Regions from separate parts of the Homo sapiens genome. Here region 1 is linked to region 2. The links are contacts of gene promoters, found by promoter capture Hi-C in human tissues and cell types (Jung and others, 2019). All regions are on one chromosome and are shown on one strand. Each heading gives the region's core, a stretch centred on a gene start or on the middle of the fragment in contact. The rest is flanking DNA. Distances are from core to core; before and after follow the strand shown. Region 1 has its middle 43 kb from the start of NPIPB4. Region 2 holds the start of IGSF6 (immunoglobulin superfamily member 6).

Region 1 (7,110 bases), core at 1,804-4,303, 160 kb before region 2:
TAAGTAACCGTATGTTTATATGAAATATCCATTTGTATCCATATTTGAGTGAATACTTTTTTAGATCCTCCTGAATTAGATCATTAGAGCTGGCTGTTTTTTCCCCTCATGCTTTTTGAGAATTCGCAGGAGTATCAACTATTATATTCAAATGTCAATACAGAAGTATAGCTAAATGTAGTTTATCATTTTCCTTTTTCCAAGCCCTCTGGCTGCACTAACATGAGTGTTTAAATTTTTGTAGTCATGATTTTATAATCCGCAATTGACATGTGAAAGTTAGTGTTCCTTTTATAATTTCATCTGATGTTAAAGTACGGTTAAAAGTCTTGCTGTTGATACTAAACAGGAAACAAAAGCATAACTTAATTCTTTCCCCTTCTTGTTAAGGGTGAAACAAATGACTTTGAGTTGTTGAAGAACCAGCTGTTAGATCCAGACATAAAGGTAATTAATTTTGTGTTTGATCATTAGCAAAATTATTGCCACTTTATACAGACATAGTTTGCTCTTTGGGTCCCATTCTGTTCTGCAGAACTTGCTCTCTCCATGGTCCTCCCTTACTTTAATCTGGTGGTTCTCAACCAGGGACAGTTTTACCCCCTAGAAGACATTTGGTGATGGCTGCAGATATTTTTGTCACAACTGGGAGGAAAGGGTGCTACTGGCATCTAGTGGGTGAATGACAGAGATGCTGCTAAACATCTCACAGTGCACAGGGCAGCCTCCCATAACCAAGAGTGATCCAGCCCCAAATGACAACAGTGTTGAGGCTGGGAAACCCTGCTCTAATGCTTCCTTTCTATTAGATTACTACCTCTTTCCTCCATGCTGCATGCAACTCTTTTGTCTCTTTAAAGCTAAAACAAACCAAAAAAAAAAAACAAACCACTGTTTCAGCATTTCCAGGTTCGAGATACACCTATCATGTAGTAAAACCTTAATACATTTTGTTTCACCATTCTTCCTTTACTGCCCAGTTTTGAAGAGAATGGTTTATTACCATGGCAGTGGTAGTTAGATTGCCTGGAATGAAATTCCAATTTTATTATCCAGTGTGTGATCTTGAGCAAATTGTTTTAACCTCTCTGCCTCTATTTTCCACTGTGTGAAACCAAGAAAACAATAGAGATTTAAAAAATATGGAGTGTTTTGTTTTTTAAGAGATGTGGTCTTGCTGTGTTGCTCTAGCTATTCACAGGTGTGATCATAGTGCACTACAGCCTTGAACTCCTGGCCTCAAATGATCCTTTCTCTTCAGCCTTCTAAAAAGCTGGGACTATAGGTGCATGCCACTGTGCCTGGCTTTAAACATGGAAATACTTAACAAGGATTCAATGAGCTAATATGCAAGAAGCACTTAGAACAGTCTCTGACTCAAAGTAAGGGCAGTAATTGTCATCTGTTGTTTTTGTTCCAGCTGACTGTGCTGTATCATTTCTCACTCACATTTAAGTCCACTGTTCTTATCACTGTAGTAATTACCCTGACAGATTACCCATGTTTTTTTTTTACATGCTGATTTCAGTGGACTTTTTTTGAGACAAAGTCTCCTTCTTGTCACCCAGGCTGGAGTGCAGTGGTGTGATATGGGCTCCCTGCAACCTTTGCCTCCTGGGTTCAAGCAATTCTCCTGCCTCAGCCTCCCAAATAGCTGAGATTACAGGCACCCGCCACCATGCCTGGTTAATTTTTTTATTTTTAGTAGAAACGGGGTTTCACCATGTTGGCCAGGCTGGTCTTGAACTCCTGACCTCAGGTGACCTGCCTGCCTCGGCCTCCCAAAGTGCTGGGATTACAAGTGTGAGCCACTGAGCCCAGCCTCAGTGGACTTACTTTTTTAAGCCTTGTATTCCTTGTATCAGCCGACACTGTTGGCCACCCACTTCTTAAAACTTCAGTGTTTCTGATCCTCCTGTCTTCTGATCCTTTAATCTCTCTCTTTTTTTTTTTTTTTTTTTTTTTGCTCTGTCGCCCAGGCTGGAGTGCAATGACGCAATCTTGGCTCACTGCAAGCTCCACCTCCCGAGTTCAAGTGATTCTCCTACCTCAGCCTCCCGAGTAGCTGGGACTACACGCGCCCGCCACCACCCCCAGCTAATTTTTTGTATTTTTAGTAGAGATGGGGTTTCACCATGTTAGCCAGGATGGTATCGATCTTCTGACCTCGTGATCCACCCGCCTTGGACTCCCAAAGTGCTAGGATTAGAGGTGTGAGCCACCACACCCGGCCAGTGATCCTTTAAGCTCTAGTATCTCTCGATAGGTTCTTGATCTTAAATTTGGTGTTGATTGGGCTTCAAAACTTGACTCTTTTCTCACTCTGTTGATTCTTCTGTGTGATCTCCTCATCTCCCTTCATGGCTTTGAAATCTACCTGTGTCCTAATATATTTGTGTCTGTAGCCAAGATTGCTCTTGTGGGCTCCAGACTTATTTCATTTTCATTTTTGGGGATGGGCAGAACAGAGTCTTGCTCTGTCACCTAGGCTGTAGTGTAGTGGGATGATCTTGGCTCACTGCAACCTCTGCCTCCTGGGTTCAAGCCATCCTCCCACCTCAGCCTCCTGAGTAGCTGTGCCACCACGCCCAGCTAATTTTTTTGTATTTTCAGTAGATTTGGGGTTTCACCATGCTGGCCAGGCTGGTCTCGAACTCCTGACCTCAAGTGATCCACCCGCCTCAGCCTCCCAAAGTGCTGGGATTATAGACGTGAGCCACTGCACCCGGCCTAGACTTGTTTCTTAACTGTCTGTTAGATGCATTTACCCAGAATCATCATAGATGCTCCAAACTTATCATGTCCACTCTTGGCTGGGCTCCATCTTTCATGGAGCTTTCCCTGGTTCTCTCTAAGCACATGGTTGTTCCTTCATTGAGTCTATTTCCCACACTTCCAGATCTCTCTAGTTACAGATCTGGTTTACAAGGCCCTCCATGGTCTATTTGGTGCTTCTTTGTTCCCCAGATTTATTATCTGTTGGCTTGGTCACTATACATGCCAGCCATACTGAACATTTTTCAGTTTTCTGAAAACATACTTTTCCTTCTGTAAGAAGCAGAACTTCCAGAAAAGACTCAACTGTGTTACTGTTTAAAGACAGCTGAAGCATCACTTTCTCTTTAAAGCTTTTCCTGACCCCTGCCTCCTTTCCCAGATACAAAGGGACATTTTCTTTGTGTTCCACTGTATTTTGTATCAGCAGTTCTCATTCTTGGTATTTTGACATACCAAGAATTGCACTAGTTGTGTGGAGTGTTGCAAGTAGAACTTTTTTCGTCTTGAGACAGGGTCTCGCTGTGTCACCCAGGCTGGAGTGTAATGGGCCCGATCATGGCTCACTGCAGCCTCAACCTCCCAGGCTCAAGCAATCTTCCCACCTCAGGCTCCCGAGCACCTGGGACCACAAGCATGTGCTACCATGCCTGGCTAATTTTTCTAGAGACGAGGTCTCCCTATGTTGCCCAGGCTGGTCTCAAATTCCTGGGCTCAAGCAGTTTCCTCCTGCCTTGGCCTCCGAAAAGTGCTGGGATTACAGGCATGAGCCACTGTTCCTGCCTGCTAGTAGAAATAATAATAGTTCAGTACTAAAGCATCAAAGTCTGCAACTGATTTACTTTTTTTTTTTTCTTTTTGAGACATAGTTTTGCTCTTGTTGCCCAGGCTGGAGTGCAGTGGCATGATCTTGGCTCACTGCAACCTCTGCCTCCGAGTTTTTTAAGTAATTCTCCTGCCTCAGCCTCCCGAGTAGCTGGGATTATGGGCATGCACCACCACGCCCAGCTAATTTTGTATTTTTAGTAGAGACGGGGTTTCTCCATGTTGGTTAGGCTCGTCTCGAACTCCCAACCTCAGGTGATCCACCCACCTCGGCCTCCCAAAGTGTTGGGATTACAGGTGTGAGCCACCACCCCCAGCCTGATTTACTTTTAAAAATGGTACAGTTTAAATGTTATCCTTATAGTTTTGTTGCAGTCTTTTTAGTGGAAAAGAGATAGGATAGATTATTTTATTTACACACTAACTTAGCTTGTTTTCTACATGCCTTTGGCCTTAGTGAGCTACCGTTAATGTTATCCTTAACAGTTTTGGACATATGAAATTACCATAGTACAAATGAGTTGTGGTTTTACTTTATTTTACTGCCAGGCTACTTGGGATTTCATCAGAAAATGGTTGATCTGTGGGAGTTTGACACATGGATATGGCATAGTAAGCACTCAGTAGCTGAATTAAGGTGGGGAAAAGGGGACAGCTTCTTCTCCGCATATAGGGAGGCATGTGGGATGGTGGACAGAGGATAGCCTTGACCGAGACAGATGGGTTTGGACCTGCTTCTTTACTGGCCTCTTGGTTGGGCAGATTGCTTATTAATCGTTCTTAGCCTCAGCTTCCTGAACAGCAAAATGGGAATAACTAAACATCTTGCAGAGTTCTTAGGATTAGAAGAAGATATATATGCGGAGTGTCAGGCACCATGCCTGGCATATGGTGTATTCTCACTAAATGATAACTCCATATGAATATCCCTGTAGGTATGATGACCTTGTGTTGCTTTTATTTATATGTCTAAGCCTTCCACAAATTAGGGGCTTTTTCTTAATGGTTTTTGTCCTGTGCAGTATATATGCATGAATATAATTAATATAGTAATATTTTACATAATTGACACTGTATTTTATACCTTGCGTTTCAAATTTAGCAGTTCTTCTCATGTCACTAACAATTACTATGAACAGTAATTTGATTGCCTGAAAAATATTTCATGGAGGAATGGGGCTATCATTTATACAGAACAAACACATCATAATATATTTAAACTCAGCCACAGATTTGGTTTAGAAAAGTTATGTTTATTCATGACCCCAATTGATCAGCCTAGACTGAATTTTATCAGCATGCTTCCTGGTCAGCTTGAATATAGAGGAAATAGAGGTAGCTATTGTTCCTTTGTGATCTTCTAATATTTCAATCTGCTAGAATTCTGCAGTTTTTAAAAGTCCCAGGTGTCAACATTTGAGGTGATTTCACTTTTTCAGGGCAAACAAAAGTGATCAGGCTGAAGTATTGCATTTAAGTCTTTCTCCTGTGTATTAGAGTTACTAGATTACTTTCTTAAAACGATTAAGTTTATTGTGACATCTTTTTCTGTTTTAATACCCAGTTTTGATTTCCTTCCAAGTTTGTGACCTTTTCCCCCCAACCTATTCTTGATAAATGATTGATATAAGATAGCTGTAAATTTCTGTTATCTTAGAGGATTTGTGATTTTGAAAGTACTCTTTGTTTAACTTAAGGATGACCAGATCATCAACTGGCTGCTAGAATTCCGTTCTTCTGTCATGTACTTGACAAAAGACTTTGAGCAACTTATCAGTATTATATTGGTAAGTTCACCATTTATTTTACTGTCAAGTATGTAATTCAGAACTTTGGTAATAGTATATGTTATATTAATAACATGCTGCTTTTATCTTTCTTCCCCCACTCTAGAGATTGCCTTGGTTGAATAGAAGTCAAACAGTAGTGGAAGAGTATTTGGCTTTTCTTGGTAATCTTGTATCAGCATAGACTGTTTTCCTCAGACCGTGTCTCAGCATGATTGCTTCCCATTTTGTGCCTCGTAAGTCATTACTCTTTGCTTGCTTGGAATTTTCTTTTCTTTTCTTTTTAATACTTCTTTGTTAAAATACCACCTTCCCCTTATATATGAGAGACTGCTACCATGGAAGATTCCAGATGCATATTGGCACCAGGTCTGGTAGACATATATTCCCCGTAATGACCCCTATGGAGGTGTCTAGATTCATTTGTTGCTGTGAGTTTGATGAATTATAACTTGCTTTATTGAACTCCTGGTGAAATCTAGGAATTTTTAGCCATTTAAAAACTATAAAGTTGCATTACTTTTTTTCAGATTGTGCATTTAATTAATCATTGGGCTAACTTTGGATTATGGAAAAATAACTTTTTTTATAGCTGTTCATTGTCTAGGTCAATAACTTTTTTTGTATAGCCATTCATTGTCTAGATCAATGACAGAACAACATATTTTCTTTTTCCCTCAAAAGCCTGAGTGATCATTAAGGAAGGCGATGTAGATGTTTCAGATTCTGATGATGAAGATGATAGTAAGTATAAAAAGGTTTAAAGCCTGGGCACAGTAGCTTACACCCATAATCCCAGCATTTTGGGAGGCCAAGATGGGAGGATCACTTGAGGCCAAGAGTTTGAGACCAGCCTGGGCAACATAGTGAGACCTTGTCTCTGCAAAAAAACATTTTTTTTCAAATATTTTCTTAAAAAAGGCTTAAAGTAGAACTAGGCAGGGTAGTGTGTGTCTTTAGTCACAGCTACCTGGGAGGCTTAAGTGGGTGGATTGCTTGAGCCCAGGAGTTCAAGCTCTGCCTGGTGGCAAGACTCTGTCTTCTTTAAAAAAAAAAAAGTAAAGCACAGAATACCTGGCATCTATTCTAATAAGTAGACTGCAACAAATGACAACTTTTGATGTAATCTTTTTGTTATATTTACCATTGATATGCAGTCAGTTGTCCTGAATGCATTATTTATATAATTAGTCCATTTAATTTTCATTGATGCTGGTGGAGAAAAGTCTTGAAATTATTATTTCTCTGATAAATTATTCCGTTTTGGTTAGCATGTGTTTTTAGCTTCAAGTATGTCACTTTTTGTTTGTTTGTTTGTTTTTTGAGACAGAGTCTCGCTCTGTTGCCCAGGCTGGAGTACAGTGGTGTGATCTTGGTTCGCTGCAGCCTTCACCTCCTAGGTTCAAGTGATTCTCCTGCTTCAGCCTCCTGAGTAGATGGGACTACAGGCGTTTGCCACCATGCCCGGCTAATTTTTGTATTTTTAGTAGAGATGGGGTTTCACCATATTGGTCAGGCTGGTCTCGAACTCCTGACCTCAGGTGATCCACCCACCTCGGCCTCCCAGAGTGCTGGGATTACAGGCGTGAGCCACTGTGCCCGGCCAGCATTTATTTTTAGTTTCAAGCATGTCGCCCTTCAGTTTTGTTTTGATGCTCATACTCTGAACTTTTCTTCTTTCAGATCTTCCTGCAAATTTTGACACATATCACAGAGCCTTGCA
Region 2 (6,327 bases), core at 1,843-4,342:
CATCATAATTGGAGTGTGACCTGCATTGGAGAGTGGCTCTGAGTAAAGAGTTGATAAAAATCCACAAAGAGTTGGGTTTTTGTCTTTTAAAAACATTCCTTTACACACTACAAAGAAATAATTAGTATTTTGGCTTTTTAAATTCCTACATGATATTTAGAATGGCGGTCCCCAAGGGTCCTCCCTTCACGTAATTGTGAACACAGACCCTCTTCCAAGGGCACATCCCGGAGGGTGCGGACTCTGAAGACTTCGACCTCCACGTGTTTATACTGGTTTGAGAACAAAGACAGCGTCATCCAGAACGTAGTAGTCATTATACATGTCGCCTTCACACAGGTATGGTAGTCTGGTGAAAGCTTCGATAACAAAACCAGCTTTTCTGAAAACTTCAGGCAGACTATTCACTTGTTCTTCCCAGTTCTGTCCTTTGATTTCCAAAATTTCTGATGGTTTCTCCCACTTGCCACCTACTAATACAAATAAGAACATTCAGTTAAATTCTTGAACAAACAAGTGATTTAAAGAGGGAAGCAGGGAGGAGCCATATCTACCAAGGACTTGGTACGTTCCAAGCCTGAGGGCTTCATGAGTTACCTCTTTTGTACTTCCCAGGTACTCTTTGAGACAGGTGGGCAGATAAAGAACAGACTCAGAAGGGGTGAAGAACTTGCCCACGCTTGCAAGGTTAATGAGTGTCAGTATGGAAATGTAAGCCCAGGTTTGTCTGGATCCAAGGCCCCACACTGTTATCTTCTCTGACAGTTTTGGGTAGTATCTGCCAATAGACTGACTGCAGGGTGTAATGGTTAATGGGTTTGGAAAACTGGTCATTAAATGCTGGAATACTGAAACAGAGAGCAACATGTAATATCTGAAGGACAGTTTTGGACAAATGCAAGAAAATACCACTGGCATAGTAAACTTATGCAACTTACTACCTAGAGAGATTTATTAGGCTGAAAATAAAAACAGGCTCATGAAGGATTTTAATTTAGAAAAGCAGATCATTGGGGAGTTTTTCTAGGGAAGTTGACTCATTCTTTGCCTTTTCAGAACAATTTCATAAACATTAAGCTCCAGGACCAGAGAGAGATGGAACAGTAGGATGGATACACCGTCCAGCATTTCTTGGACTAGAGATGAAGCCTCTATCAGTCATTTCCAAACCTATGAGCAGGAGATGCCTGGGGGACAAGGGGACTAGGGAAGGTCCTCAAATTCACATACAAACCTGGCACTGACTACAGACACACACACAGAGATGACAGTATATTTAACTTTGGGGGTACTTTTTAGGTGCTATGGTGATACAAAAACTACATACATCTGTTGAAGTGTTAAAACCAGATTGAGGCCGGGCGTGGTGGCACATGCCTGTAATCCCAGCACTTTGGGAGGCCGAGGTGGGCGGATCACGAGGTCAGGAGATCAAGACCATCCTGACTAACACAGTGAAACCCCGTCTCTACTAAAAAAAATACAAAAAAATTAGCTGGGCATGGCAACATGCACCTGTAGTCCCAGCTACTTGGGAGGCTGAGGCAGGAGAATGGTGTGAACCCGGGAGGCGGAGCTTGCAGCGAGCCAAGATCGTGCCACTGCACTCCAGCCTGGGCGACAGAGCGAGACTCTGTCTCAAAAAAAAAAAAAAAAAAAAAAACAAAACAGACTGAGAATAACTTTCTGTTAATGAGAAAATATATCATGAGCAGATGCCAAGGGCACAGACATCATATCATGGTGGGGAGATTTTTCATAATTTTCAGTGGTGCAGATGACGCTCTTCCCATGTCTGGGGAATTGCCTGCCCAGAGTCTGGGAGAGACACAAGGCCTGGGAGCCGCTTTCCTGGCCTGCCGTGCAGCTGAGGCACTGGCACGCAGCCTAAGCCAGGCACACTTGCCCATGCCCTGGAATGGAGAGCCAGTGACCCAGAGTAGTGGGGATGTGAGCTTCTCCTTCTCTGGGGGTGGAGCAATGGCAGTGAGACCAAGGGGCTGGGGCAGTGGTTGAGCGATGCTGACAACAGGGCTGATGGCACCTAGTGTTTGGCAGTGGCAGTAGCATCCTCTTCAGACCTGTTTATGGTGTGATTTGAGGCATTCTTCCTGGCTGTGGACCCCACACAAGATTCACTAGCCCTCCCAGTGACTCTAGGATCTACCTTCAAATGTTTGCATAAATTTCCTTTTAAGTCAGCCTGAGTCTGTTTCTGCTGCTTTACAAAGAAGACCCTTACTGAATCACCACTAAGTGCTGGGGGAGAGGACACAGAGGACAGAGGGCCCACATATTTGTTTCTCAACACATTAAAAGGGGGTCTTTGGGCCAGGCATGGTGGCTCACACCTGTAATCCTAACACTTTGGGAGGCCAAGGCAGGGGGATCGCTTGAGGGCAGGACTAGCCTAGACAACACAGAATCTACAAAAAAAAAAAAAAATTAGCCAGGGGTGGTGGTGCATGCCTGTAGTCCCAGCTACTCAGGAAGCTGAGGCTGCAATGACCTGCAATCTTGCCACTGCATTCCAGCCTGGGTGATAGAGACCCTGTCAAAAAAGGGGGGAAGGCAGGTGTCTTTGGATTCAAAACTGGAGTACAAAAAGTTAATAACAGACAATTTATTTATTCGCTGCATTAGAATGTGTTGTTTACTAACTTTTCTCATCTCTACACAAAGCCACTTCTCCTTCTGCTGTTCTTTGTTCCCAGCAGTTACTGGCCCAGAGTGGCACCCAGAGCAGGTACCCTAGACAGTGACTGAACTGTTCTGAAAAATCCAAGTACGAATTATTTGTCAAACAATACTCCTTCCTGGAAATATGTGCTAGGTGTAAATCAAAATCTCACCCAGAAACATCTAACACCTATGACAACTGTAAAATCCATGGAAAAAAAAAAGATATGCACATTTCTAAATGTGCTCCAGGCCAAAATCTCAATGTTAAATGGTGAAGCCATCCTTGCACAATTTCAAAAAGTTCCTGATTATGGTTCCTTCATAAGAGGTTCCTCTCTTCAGCTCTTCTTCCCTTCTGAAAAAAGAAAGCCAACTTTCCTTTCAAATACACACCCCAACCCGCCCCGGCATACACAGAAATGGGGACTGCGAGCAGAAGCAACATCGCTCGCCATCTGCAAACCAATCTCATTCTATTTTGTGTCGGTAAGGTTCTTTTTCTTCTCCTCCTTCATTTTATTTAAATCAACTGCTATTTTTCACCTAATGCATTTATATTTTAAGCTCCTTCAGATTAATTTTTAAATGTATAACATTATGAAAACTGCCTAAGAGGATAAGTTTCCTTTTTCCCCTGAGAAATAGACAATAAAAAAATAGCTGAGAAAAAGTTTCATATTAACCTTGAAAAGTCTCTTTGCTATTATGCTAATTGGAGACAATCTGACCAAAGGGTTGAAAATATTCTTAAAATCGTAGGTATAAGTTATCAATAATTTAATTATCATACAAACTTGATCTGCACATAGAAAGCAATAAATGATTATTTGCTGAATATTTTCAAAGAACAATTTCTATAAAAGTACTTTTCATTTAAGAAAAAAAAAACTGCCATGACTCCAATAGCCATCCCATAGTATATCTATTTTTAAAATTCTGTCTACTTCTGTTTTTTTATCTATGAAAGAGAAAGGATTTCCAATACATCTAGTAATCTCAGATTTGCCCACACAATTTGGATTATAGGGCAGGGAAGGGGGGAAAGTTCTTAATTTTTTCTCATCTGTGAAGAAATATATCAAAATGTTAATGGGAGTTATTTCAGGCAAAAGGACTATGGGTGACTTTTTGCTTCTACTTTTAATAACCTGTTTTTTGCTAATAAGTATATATTACTTTCATAGACTATTTTAATTAGCATTATTTTAAAGAAGAATTCCTGTCTTTTAGAGATATATTCTGAAAGATGCAGATAAAATGGCTGGGATTTGCTCTAAAATAATATGGGAGTGAGGGAGTAGGTGGGAGGAGAAAAGAAACAAGATTGGGTCGAAGCCATGTGATGGCAGGGGGTTGACTGTACTACTTCGCTACTTTGATATGTTAGAAATTTGAAATCTAATATAATAAAGCTTTGGGCTGGGCGTGGTGGTTCATGCCTGTAATCCCAGCACTTTGGGGGCCAAGGTGAGAGGATCACTTGAGCTCAGGAGTTCAAGACCAGCATGAACAACATAATGAGACCCCCATTTCTACACAAGAAAAAAAAATAGCTGGGCGTGATGGCACCTGCACTGCACCTGCAGTCCCACCCACCTGGGAGGCTGAGGCAGGAGGATCACTTGAGCCCAGGACTTTCAGGCTATAGGGAGCTGTGATTGTGCCACTGCACTCCAGCCTGGGCAACAGAGCAAGACATTTACTTACTTCTTACTTACTAGATAGAGAGACAGCTTTGTTTAAATGTCAAGAATTAGTTCTCTTCCTACTTTCAATATGGCTTTTTTGTTTGTTTGAGACGGAGTCTCGCTCTGTCACCCAGGCTGGAGTGCAGTGGCAAGATCTCGGCTCACTGCAAGCTCCGCCTCCCGGGTTCACGCCATTCTCCTGCCTCAGCCTCCCGAGTAGCTGGGACTACAGGCATCTGCCACCACACCCGGCTAATTTTTTGTATTTTTAGTAGAGACAGCGTTTCACCGTGTTAGCCAGGATGGTCTCGATCTCCTGACCTCGTGATCCGCCCGCCTCGGCCTCCCATAATGCTGGGATTACAGGCATGAGCCACCATGCCCAGCCTCAATATGGTTTTTTAAAATAATAAGAATAATCTTTCTATTCCCTCCATGGAGGAAATAAATCTTCAACCTTTTCATTGGATACTGTGTTTAAAAAACAATTCCTAGAATATGAGGATTCTTAAAAGAAATCATTCACAGAAGCAGGCTGTGGTGTGACATATCCAAACTTCTCTTTTTTGTTAATAGGTTGCCTAACTGGTTGGGGGAGGGAACCACAGTTTCATCACAAGTTCCTGCTCACAGAGGAAATCATTACAATTGGTTTTCTCCCACACATAGCCTAATTGGGAAGAAGGTGGAAATAAGTAGAGATATGAAATTCCAAAGTTACAAATACCTGTTTTTATCCTATACTACTAGTTTTTAAAGAAAAGTGTTGAAAGTCAGCTATCCCCGCCACCCCAACCTCTATTTTTTTTTTTTTTTTTTTTGAGACAAGAGTCTCACTCTGTCACCCAGGCTAGAGTGCAGTGGCACAATCTCAGCTCACTGCAACCTCCACCTCCTACGTTCAAGCGATTCTCCTGCTTCAGCCTCCCAAGTAGCTGGGATTACAGGCGTCCACCACCACACCTGGCTAATTTTTTGTATTTTTAGTAAAGATGGGGTTTTACCATGTTGGCCAGGCTAGTCTCGAACGCCTGACCTCAGGTGATCTGCCCGCCTCGGCATCCCAAAGTGCTGGGATTACAGGCGTGAGCCACCATGCCCAGCCTCTATTCCTTTTATAGAGACAGGATCTCACAATGCTGCCCAGGCTGGAGTGCACGTCCAGACTCTATTCCTTTAATAGAGACAGGGACTCACAATGCTGCCCAGGCTGGAGTGCAGTGGTGCCATCACAGCTCACTGCAGCCTGGAATTCCTGGGCTCAATCAGCCTCCGGTCTCAGCCTCCTGAGTAGCTGTGACTAATGGCCACACCACCACGCCTGGCTCTTTGGCTTCCCTTTTAAAAACACTACCCAATTTGGAAGGCTGAGGCGAGTGGATTGCTTGAGCCCAGGAGTTTAAGACCAGGCTGGCCAACATCGCAAAACCCTGTCTCTACTAAAAATAAAAAAATTAGCCAGGCGTGGTGGTGCACACCTATAGTCTCAGCTACTCCAGAGGCTGCAGTGAGAGGATTGCTTGAGCCCAGAAGACAAAGGCTACAGTAAGTTAGCCAAGATCACACCACTGCATTCCAGTTTGGGCGACACAGTGGGACCCTATCTCAAAAATAAAAATGTGTAAATAATGGAATCGTCCACTTTTTAAAAATAATTTTACAAATAAAAATAAAAACATTATCTGAAAGATGACTTGAGACTGAGACAGTGCTTAACTTTGCTAAGTTTTGGCAGACCCAATTCCATTTTAAATTTCCACTCAGTATATACTATAAAATGTTTCACTGTACTTGTAAGGTGCTTGAGTCTGGGCAGGAGACATGAGGTTGTATTTCTCAGACTTGAGAGGGAATCCAATCCCCTTGGCTGGAGATGGAGCTGAGCTGGGCCTCCCACAGACACGAAGCTCAGAGAAGCTTGCAGGCCTCCTCCAGGTGACTGCACCCTCTTGTCTGG

What was found. The method cuts DNA at HindIII sites, captures the fragments that hold promoters and counts their contacts. A contact is called where the count stands out against the background at its distance.
Region 1: a contact is called between a fragment that was not itself captured here and the fragment with the promoter of IGSF6 in region 2, in 1 of the 25 tissues and cell types used here (hippocampus).

Annotation. Positions count from the first base shown.
Region 1 is chr16:21,810,799-21,817,908 of GRCh38, reverse strand. It overlaps the pseudogene RRN3P1. Among named protein-coding and RNA genes, the nearest start is that of NPIPB4, 43 kb to the left of the region's middle. The HindIII fragment of the contact is 9,076 bases long and covers 1-7,110 here.
Region 2 is chr16:21,649,373-21,655,699 of GRCh38, reverse strand. It overlaps IGSF6 (immunoglobulin superfamily member 6), which reads left to right and starts at 3,092. Exons shown (of 6, transcript NM_005849.4): 1 at 3,092-3,168. The coding sequence starts at 3,102. METTL9 (methyltransferase 9, His-X-His N1(pi)-histidine) reads right to left here. Exons shown (of 5, transcript NM_016025.5): 5 at 1-473. The coding sequence ends at 268. The HindIII fragment of the contact is 6,081 bases long and covers 1-5,191 here.